3 separate regions of the Homo sapiens genome follow, and all the other regions are linked to region 1. Evidence: promoter capture Hi-C in human tissues and cell types (Jung and others, 2019). All regions are on one chromosome and are shown on one strand. The core of a region is centred on a gene start or on the middle of the fragment in contact, and the rest is flanking DNA. Distances in the headings are between cores, read along the strand shown. Region 1 holds the start of OR9Q1 (olfactory receptor family 9 subfamily Q member 1). Region 2 holds the start of OR1S2 (olfactory receptor family 1 subfamily S member 2). Region 3 has its middle 80 kb from the start of CTNND1.

Evidence for each region. The method cuts DNA at HindIII sites, captures the fragments that hold promoters and counts their contacts. A contact is called where the count stands out against the background at its distance.
Region 2: the fragment with the promoter of OR1S2 here is called in contact with the fragment with the promoter of OR9Q1 in region 1 in 1 of the 25 tissues and cell types used here (mesenchymal stem cells).
Region 3: a contact is called between a fragment that was not itself captured here and the fragment with the promoter of OR9Q1 in region 1, in 2 of the 25 tissues and cell types used here (mesendoderm cells and ovary).

What each region holds. Positions count from the first base shown.
Region 1 is chr11:58,022,336-58,025,848 of GRCh38, reverse strand. OR9Q1 (olfactory receptor family 9 subfamily Q member 1) reads right to left here and starts at 1,968. Exons shown (of 3, transcript NM_001005212.4): 1 at 1,745-1,968. LOC107984331 (a long non-coding RNA gene) reads left to right here and starts at 1,430. Exons shown (of 3, transcript XR_001748218.1): 1 at 1,430-1,762; 2 at 2,825-3,009. The HindIII fragment of the contact is 7,062 bases long and covers 1-3,513 here.
Region 2 is chr11:58,202,163-58,205,578 of GRCh38, reverse strand. It overlaps OR1S2 (olfactory receptor family 1 subfamily S member 2), which reads left to right and starts at 1,437. Exons shown (of 1, transcript NM_001004459.2): 1 at 1,437-2,375. The coding sequence starts at 1,437. The coding sequence ends at 2,375. The HindIII fragment of the contact is 9,459 bases long and covers 494-3,416 here.
Region 3 is chr11:57,840,353-57,843,723 of GRCh38, reverse strand. No RefSeq gene overlaps it. Among named protein-coding and RNA genes, the nearest start is that of CTNND1, 80 kb to the right of the region's middle. The HindIII fragment of the contact is 6,432 bases long and covers 1-3,371 here.

The sequences.
Region 1 (3,513 bases), core at 719-3,218:
GCCCAGAGGAATTGTTAGAAGAGGTTGTGAGGTCCACGGAGAGAGTCAGGAGAGCACAGTGGTTAAGGCTACATTCAGGCATTAGACCACCTGATGCCTTCAAATCTCAGCTCCACCACCTTCTAACTGAAATCAAATGAAAGCAACCTAGATGGGAGGCAATGCCTAACCCAACGGAATGAATATCTGATGGAATCATTGAAGTCATCAGAGACAAGTCTAATGAGAAACTCTTTCTGAGCGAGAGTTCCAGAGCATCCAAATTCTACTCCTCTTCCCCCCTGCCCCAACACGTCTTCGGGTCATGTGTTGGTAGGAAGATGAGCTTCTCTCCAAAAAGGGAGAAAGGAGGCCGGGCGCAGTGGCTCACGCCTGCAATCCCAACACCTTGGGAGGCTGAGCGGGCGGATCACAAGGTCAAGAAATCAAGACCATCCTGGCCAACACGGTGAAACCCCGTCTCTACCAAAAATACAAAAAGTAGCTGGTCATGGTGGCGTGCGCCTGTAGGACACACCCTATAGTAGCACGGCGGGCACCCCAGCTACTCAGGAGGCTGAGGCAGGAGAATCTCTTGAACCCGGGAGGCGGAGGTTGCAGTGAGCTGAGATCGCGCCACTGCACTCCAGCCTGGCGACAGGGCAAGACTCCGTCTCAAAAAGAAAGGGTCATTTACGGAGCCCCTCCCATGGGCTAGATTCTGATGGGCTGATACCATCTGGCTTAATCCCCACAATATTGTACTATGATCCTATGAACTATTCTTGATATAGAGGTGTTATTTGTCTTGGTTTTCACGCAATTGAAATCACTGAAGGCTCAGAGAGACAGTAAGTAAACTTGGGCAAGATCAAAGAACTACATGGCACAGAGAAGAGCCAAACCCCAGAGCTTCTGACAAAAAAAGCCTCCACACCGTGCCATTTTCCTCTGCCATCTCATTTCACCCAATGACAACGTGCCTGCAACCCTGGCTCCCTGCCCTGACTCTGAGGTTAATTTCCCTGCAGCTCGGAGCCCCGCCAAGGCTGGAGGAATATCCCACAGGCTCCAGTGAGCTGCAAAGCACAGTCACACTCCCAGGGCTATTAACAGCATCCGCTTCCTCTCCAAGGTTCAGGGAACTTTATCCACCAAGTGCCATGCAGGAAAAAAGAGGTCAGCCAGAGAGGAGAGGGTCACACGGGGCAATCACTAAATAAGGAGAAAGGCCGCACAGGAACTTGGCCCAATTTGGTGTCCTCAAAAGACGGTGCTCCCTGGCCAAGATTTTCCCTAACAAATATGGAAAAACAGTTTGAGGCCCATGCACGAAAATTGAAACTTGGTTCCTGTAGCTATTTGCTTGTGTAGCTACGTGACAAGCCTGGTGAGAAACGCTGGATTTCTCCCTCTTTCAGTTCTCTCCACCTGGCATCTGGGGGCCTAGTCCCAAAAAGTGAAAGGAACTGGAAAATAAACTTACTAAGATCCAGGAAATGATTTCAAAAAAAAACAGCCAACAAACCGAGGTGAGCAGGCGCAGTGGGTGGGTGTTATGAGACAGACAGCGGGGCTAGGAGATGCCCAGGATGAAGCCCGGAGACCTGCTCTCTGATTCCTCTTGGGTCTAGCTCATCACAGCCTGCTTCCCCACTCCCACTGCAACGTGACAGCAACAGCACATCTCACTTTCCAACATGCAGACAGCCCCCTGTGTTAACAGCACCGTCTCTGAAATCAGTGGAGCTGCATTTGACCCTACCTCCGTCAGGCCGTAGCTGTGAGTTTGGGAAAGGCGTTTGATCTTTCTGAGCCTCAGTGTCTTCATCTTCAAACGGGAAGGATAACATGTACATTGCTGGGCTGGACTAAAGATGGAAGGAGACATCATTAAGGGAAAGTTAGGGCCTTTGCTCCTTTCGCTCCCTCTACCATCTCTGTGTGGCATCCTCCTGCACTTCTTCAATTCCCTGCACAAGGGCCACCTTAACAGAGAGGCCCTTTCTGACCACCTATCTGAAAACGCAGTTCCTTTCACTCTCTGACCCTCTTCTCAGTTTGATTTTTTGGGTCACAGCTTCATTGCCATCTGGTAGATATTTATTTGTTTGTCTATAACATCACGCACACACACACACACACACACACAAAAGGAAGCTCCTTGAAGATAGTGCCTTTGTTTGTTTGTTCATTACTGTGTTGCTAATGCCAAAGTCACTGACATGTAGTCTACATGCAATAAATATATACTGATGTAATAAAAGGGTGGCTGCATGCTCCTGATTGTACGTTGGCAGCGTACTTAGTTTCCTTTCCATTTCTAGCTACCTGTTTTTAAGGAAATTTAAGGAAAAGGAAGTTCAACAATACTTACAGAAAAGTCAATCAATTTGGGTGTTGTCCATGCAATTACTGTCAACGGACTACAAGACTGACAATGCCTGCAGGAATGATGTCTTGTATATCTGGAGCAGCCTGCTCTCATGGCCTTGGGTGGGAGGCAAATTGAATTGATTTCTACATATAATTTCTTTTTCTTAGCTACAGAATTTAATTCTAAATTTCCCGGAAAGCTGTACTCTATCAGCTGTTTTCAAACTCTGTTCCACCAAGCCCTAGGTTTGCTTAGTTGCCAGGTAGCTGGGAAGAGGAAAGGACCTAGTATGTGGGGCTCTCAAAATCCCTGCTTCAACCAGCTAGTAAGTGACAGAGTCCAGATGAGAATCCAGCCCAGTCTGACTCCAGAGCCCACCATCTTTCCATCATACCACCTCCCCAGGGAGGGTGATATTCCTAAAATAAAATCTGATCAATTAACTGGGCGCTTCTCTCATTATTCCAGGACTTCAATACTGAGCAGATACAATCTGTTCCTCAAAGCTACTGACATATAGTCTGCCTATGATGGGAACAAATGGGAAACTGAGGTATAAGAAAATAAGTGGGAGGCTTCTCCAGCCATATATGTGACAGAGACCCCAGACCCAAACCAAGCCAGAGAGTCCACTATAGCAGACAGGAACCAAGGTGAGAATCAAGCTTTCTGAGCTTCTAGCTCTTAATCTCTAGGCAGCAATAATATCTATTCTTGTTGTCTCTCAGAACATTCTGTGAATTGATGAGATAGTGGATGTGCGGGTTCTTTGAAACTTTAAAGGTACACTCTGGTAAAACCTGCTTACTCTTTTGCTTCTATTGCTTATGGACTATGCGATGACCACAGAATTTCAATAAAGGGACAGCATGGGAATGGCCATCTGGTGGGACTCTGGGAATGGTCATGAAGCTGCCCTGGAATAACAAAAGCAAATTGATTTTGTTTAGATTGTAGGTTTGAGGTGGCTTGAGGAGGCAGATGGAGATGAAGGAGAACTAAAACCCCACAAAGTCCCTCGGCACCCCTACTCTATAAGAGCTTAAGCAAATCAGTTGAATTCTGTGTGCCTCCATTTTCTCACTTGAAAACTGAATTGATATTTAAAACCACAATGACTCTGTAAAAGAGCTTTTGGGCCGGGTGTGGTGGCTCAT
Region 2 (3,416 bases), core at 188-2,687, 180 kb before region 1:
GTTTTAAAAATGTTTAACTTTGATACTGAAGACCCATTTCCAGGTATTAAAAAACCAAGTCCAGCCCAATTTTAAACTTCAGCTTCACTATCAATTCAAAGCATGGGTCCTACCTTGTAAGTTCAGATCTGATGTGTAGCTTGGGTCATACAGTGGAAAGGTGGGAGCATATGTTCTTCCCTTGCTCTTTGGCCTCTCTTCCCGCAAAACCGTTGTTGTTACTATTGTTGTTGTTGTTTTAGTCATTTTGGTCTTTCCTTCTTTTTCAGTTTTATCAGGTCAGGGAGGAAGAATGGGGATGGGAAAAAAGGCAAAAGTGTTCATATCTGTTGCCATAGATACTAGCAGCTTGTGCCTTATATGTGGCAGGCATGGTGTCTCTTGAGATCATTTTGAGGATTGTCAGAGGCTCCCTTTTGGAGACTGCCCCATTATGCGGTTCCCTGACAAGGGCAATGAATTATGTCCCTGATCTCTTTAAGATCTCTCTTTCAAAAGAGACCCACCTCATGGTTTCTTATTGCTACAGCCTCCTCTGCCCCAATAGGCTGTCTCTGGATTGGAATCTCAACAAGGTGACTTGACTCCAATGACCTCCTATAGCATCACGTGTCCTATGGGAAATTCACATATTTATGCCATGTCATGGGTGAAAATGCAGATTGCCCTACTAACCACCATCTTTTCCCTCTACCCTGCCATCACGACCTGATCCAGTGAGCCCCTCACCTTTAGAAATGAGAGGCAAACAGAAGTCTTTAAGTGTATCTGTGCCCCCTAAATTTTCTTGAAGCTAATATCTAGCCACAGATGAAGTAAAACCCTGATTGCTCCTACTTGTACTTATTCTCCAAAAGCACTTGTTTTGGAGTTCTCCCCCGGCGTTAATGGGATGAAGCACCCACACAATGGTGTACACTCCCATAGCCATTCCTAACCCTTAGTTGTGTTTCCTTCTCCAGTCTCTTCACTTTTACGAGACTTGAAATTTCTCCTTTCTTAGATTTAAGGCATAAAGTTGAACAAGGGAGATGATTTGGGGACCAGTTTGGTAACTTTTAAGTAATTCCTGCACATGTACCTAACATCTCTAGAATATAGGGTATGCCTCACCTATGATCCTCAGTTTGGGGGATTTAACCTACATTTAGAACCAACTGGGAAAATCACATTCAGAATTCTGTTAGAGTTTAAAACATGTTCATTGAGAAGAATCTGCCATGTCCTGTCTTTTTCTGTGGCATTTTCCAAATCTCTGCACTGCTGAAATACTTCCTTATTAAGTAGCACTTCCACTTAATAAGCAGAAGAAGCTTTATTGCTCATCAGCTTAAAGGAAGTGCCTTACTGTAATGGCTGCAGCCAAATGACACCATGTTAAATTTTCTTGTAGGTGTATGAAGACTTTGTGTTCCTTTCTTCAGATCAGCAGAAATATGCATCAAGAAAACCAAACCACCATCACTGAATTCATTCTCCTGGGACTCTCCAACCAGGCTGAACATCAAAACCTCCTCTTTGTGCTTTTCCTGAGTATGTATGTGGTCACTGTGGTTGGGAACGGGCTCATCATTGTGGCTATCAGCTTGGATATATACCTTCACACCCCCATGTATCTCTTCCTTGCCTACCTATCCTTTGCTGATATTTCCTCCATTTCCAACTCAGTCCCCAAAATGCTGGTGAATATTCAAACCAACAGCCAATCCATCTCTTATGAGAGCTGCATCACACAGATGTACTTTTCTATTGTGTTTGTCGTCACTGACAATTTGCTTTTGGGGACCATGGCCTTCGACCACTTTGTGGCGATCTGCCACCCTCTGAACTATACAACTTTCATGCGGGCCAGGTTCGGCACTTTGCTCACAGTCATCTCGTGGTTCCTCAGTAATATTATTGCTCTTACACACACCCTTCTGCTCATTCAATTGCTCTTCTGTGACCACAACACTCTCCCACACTTCTTCTGTGACTTGGCCCCTCTGCTCAAACTGTCCTGTTCAGATACAATGATCAATGAGCTTGTGTTGTTTATTGTGGGTTTATCAGTTATCATCTTCCCCTTTGTACTCATCTTCTTCTCCTATGTCTGCATCATCAGAGCTGTCCTGGGAGTATCATCCACACAGGGAAAGTGGAAAGCCTTCTCCACTTGTGGCTCTCACCTGACAATTGCATTACTGTTCTACGGAACCACTGTAGGCGTGTACTTTTTCCCCTCCTCCACTCACCCTGAGGACACTGATAAGATTGGTGCTGTCCTATTCACTGTGGTGACACCCATGATGAACCCCTTCATCTACAGCTTGAGGAATAAGGATATGAAAGGTGCCCTGAGAAAGCTCATCAATAGAAAAATTTCTTCCCTTTGATGCCCTGGACATCTACATTCTTTTAGTCCACATAATCAGATAAATGATTCAGCCCAGAGTGTATGACACAGTTGTGACGGTTCAACTTTTGATGAACTTGCAGATGTCTGTCTCCTATTCCAACCTCTAAGGGGATTGGAGCTTTTCCACTTAGCTCTTGTCTTGGAAACAAAATCTGTAACTGCCATGGTAAGTCACAAGAATAACACGCATCCTTAGAGAGTAGATTGGTGGTTACCAGGGCCCAGTAGCAGAGAAGTGGAGTGGAGTTGAATAGAGGTTGATTAATGGGTACAACAATACAGTTAGATAGAAGAAATAAGACCTATTGTTTGATAAATCATTATGGGGCACTATGGTAAACAGTAATCTATTATATATTTCAAAATAGCTAAAAGAGAATAATTCCAATGTTCCCAGCATAAAGAAAAGATAAATGTTTAAGGTTATGGATATCCTAATCCCCTAATTTGATTATTACACATTATATGAATGTATCAAAATATAAGATGTTCCCCATAACTATGGAGGACAATTTATCAATAAAAATACATGTATTGATAAATTAAAAATTTATGCATAAATAAAAAATTAATTTAAAAACACATCTTAATTACAATCTATATTATTATAAACTTTGGTACAAATTATTCATAACCTAGACTATCACAGGTGCATAGAGTGCCTACAGTCTAGCCTTTGTAGCTTTGAAGACAGTTATTACTACTTCTTTCTTTAATCTACATTTCTTTAGGTCAGTTTTTCTCAAAGTTTGTTTTGTTAAGGTACTATTCAGTGAGATGTTTAGTGGTTATAACAATGAAGATTCCCATGGTCAAATAATTTTTGGCAACTCTGAGTTATATGAAGCACAATGTAATAACTGGACAACTTCCAAGAACCTTCATTGTCATGTAAATCTCCAAGAGGGTAAGATGGTACACAGCATTTCTCAAGACTAAACTTGAAATAATTGAAATTCAATTATTTCCATCATACAGAACCCAATTCATCACAGTTGTTCGCGGAACTAGCATTGCA
Region 3 (3,371 bases), core at 540-3,039, 180 kb after region 1:
CTATTATCAAATTGTCATCTCTCCTTTCATTTCTGTCAGTTTTTGTTTCATGTATTTTGGGATGCTGTTAATAGGTGCATATATGTTTATAATTGTTATGTCTTCCTGATAGATTGGCCCCTTTATTATTATAAAATGTCCTTCTTTATCTCTATTAACATTTTTATTTTAAATTTTATTTTGTCTGACATTGTTATAGCTGCTTCAGATACCTCTGAGGTTCTGTTCATTTTTCTTCATTCTTCTGTCTTTGGATTTCATAATCTCTGCTGATCTATCTTCAAGTTCAATTCTCTCTTCTGCCAGTTCAAATCTACTGTTGAGCCTCTCTAGTGATTTTATTTCAGTTACTGAACTTTTTAACTTCACAAAGTCTACTTGATTCTTTTTTATAGTTTCTACCACTTTACTGATATTCTCTACATAATAAAATATTGTCATCCTATCTTCTTTTGCTTCCTTAAGCATGGTTTCCTTACTTTCATAATGGCTACTTTGAAGTCTTTGTTAAGTCTGACATCTGTCCCTCTCACAAGTAGTTTCTGTTGACTGATTTTTATCCTGTGTATAGGTCACACTTTCCTGTTTCCTTGACGTTAGCATAATTTCTGTTGAAAACAAATGCTTCAGATGATATATTGTAGAAGTTCTGGATATCACTCCCCTCCCTCTGATGCCAAGGCTTGTTATTGTTGTATGCCTGTTTGTATATTGTCTGGGTGGATTATTTTAGTGAAGTCTATTTCCTTCACACTGTAAAGCCTCTGATGTTGTTCCTCAGAAGGTGCAACATTGGGCATATGCACAGGCACCCTAGGATGTCAGTAATGTTATTTTAGCAGGGCTCTCTTCTACTGCCTCTTCCCTTGATCACTCCCAGCTCTTATGCTTCACTAATTGTCAGCTGATTGCTCTATTGTTTGTGACAATGTCCTGAGACATAAATTGCTCCACAGCTAATCCAATTAAATTAGGACTCCCTTGCAGGGTTCATTTTTGAGATGCATGTTTAAGGTTTGCTCTGTCCCCAGGAGGGCTCTTCTTAGCAATCCTTTTCCCTGATGCTCTCTGGTAAACTAGTTGGTAAGTGGGCTCGCTTGTATCTATCATAAAGCCACCAGCTGCCTCTTAATTGCTTTCTAATGAAACTGCCATTGTTTGAGAGAACCCTTAGACTTGAACTTCCCTACATCCTGTATCAAACTCCATTCCTTATGGGAAGACTTTAGATTTATTTGTTTAGAGTCCGCCTCTCCCCCTAGGAAAGATACCAGAGCCACAGTTCCAGAGCTGAGTAGTGGGGATAGAAATCACTGGTGTGCTTCTCTCTAGGTAACAGCTCTGCTTTAGGCAAACTAATTTTTCCATCCTCTGACCTCCCTCACTCTGCTCCTTGACTATAAGTCCCCATTTGTCCTTGTTGTATTCAGAATTGAGCTCAGTTCTACACTGAAGTCTCTTTCCCCTATTGCAGTAGTACTGAATACAATCTGTCCTTACCACCTCTAGTGTCCTGCTCCATTTAACACTCCTCACATTAATATTCCTCACACAGAAGTGAAACCCCACAAAACAATTTTTTGAACACTCTGTCATATATAGTTTCTAAGTTCATAAATCATGGAATTAAAAATTTAGAAATTGTCAAATGTGTTACTTATCACATTGTATTACCAGTATACTTCTAGGGCATTACATAATGTATTACATTCATTCCAAATCCTCATCCTAAGCCCATCTCTCACAAAAGCTTTTCCCTGCGAGTTTTGTTTTTGGGTTTTTTTGAGATGGAGTCTCACTCTGTTGCCCAGACTGGAGTGCAGTGGAATGATCTCAGCTCACTGCAACATCTGCCTCCCAGGTTCAAGCAATTCTCTTGCCTCAGACTCCCAAGTAGCTGGGAGCAATTTATGTCCCAGGACATTGTCACAATGCACCACCATGCCTGGCTAATTTTTTGTATTTTTTTTAGTAGAGACAGGGTTTCACCATGTTGGCCAGGGTAGTCTAGAACTCCTGACCTCAAGTGATCTGTCTGCCTTGGCCTCCCAAAGTGCTGAGATTAGAGGCATGAGCCACTGTGCCTGGCCGTGATTTTAAAGTCCCTAGAATTTTACATGTCTGCTATTATTATCTCTAAAACTTTTCTGTGGGTCTCTTACCTCTCTTCTCAGCACACTGTCAGCAATTAGAGGCATAGACATGTAGTTCAACTCATGTTAGTGGTTGGCTCAGCAGCACAACAGTGTCAAGTAAATGAAAACACAGCAAGTATCTCAGACTTACCAATGTGCATGGCATAATCCTGCTCAAAGACAACATTCTAGACCCCCTAACTGAGCTCTGCATTCTTCAATAAATGCTAATAATCCTAGGTAAGCACAGAGAATAAAAATGGAAGCATTACCCCATATAACTCATCACAACTAAAAAAAATGCTACTGTGCTTCTCCCACATATATGCAAAATATAGGCAAAATGATTTTCAATGAAACATTATTTGATGGAGCAGAAATCGGAAACAGCAAAAACATCCATCAATAGGGGAAAGATCAAATAAATTTAGTGTGGCCATATAATAGAGTGCTCTGCACAGGGACTGATATGGGCAGATGTTCAAATCATACTGTTGAGTTGCAGAACAATGCACACAGAATCATCATTCTTTATTTAAAGAAGGAAGGAAAGGAAGGAGGAAGGGATGGAGGCAGGGACGAAGGAAGAAAGGGAGGGAATGAGGAAAGAAAGAAGAGAGAAAGGGAAGAAGGGAACTGTGCATGTAAAAGTATCTTTTTATGCCTATAAATATATAGGAGGGGTTTTGAATAAAACTCTTAACAGCAAATATTTTTCTGTGAAAAATGAAAATGGAAGTGGAGATGCAGAGGGAAAGGGAAGGCTTTGATGCTTTATTTACTTCTACGTTGTTTGAATTTCCTATTCATTAAAAAAAAAAGACTAAATAGCAAAGAAAAGCACTGATATCAGGAAGAACTGTGTTGGAAATTCAGCTCTGCCACCATGTGTCCATTACTCTTACAAGTGCTTTACAGGCTTTCTCTCATTTAAACCAGACAATAACCTTATGAGATAGGCAGCATTATTATCCCTATATTATGGATAAAAATAGAGTCAGAATTTATAATCAAGTTTTCTTTTTTTTTTTTTTTTTTTTTTTCTGAGACAAGGTTTCACTCTGTCGCCCAGGCTGGAGTGCACTGGTGTGATCTTGGCTCACTGCAACCTCTGCCACCCGGGTTCAAGTGATTCTCATGCCTCAGCCTCCCCAGTAGCTGGGATTATAGGTATGTGCCACCATGCCCAGCTAATTTTTGTATTTTTAGTAGAGATGAGGTTTCACCATGTTGGCC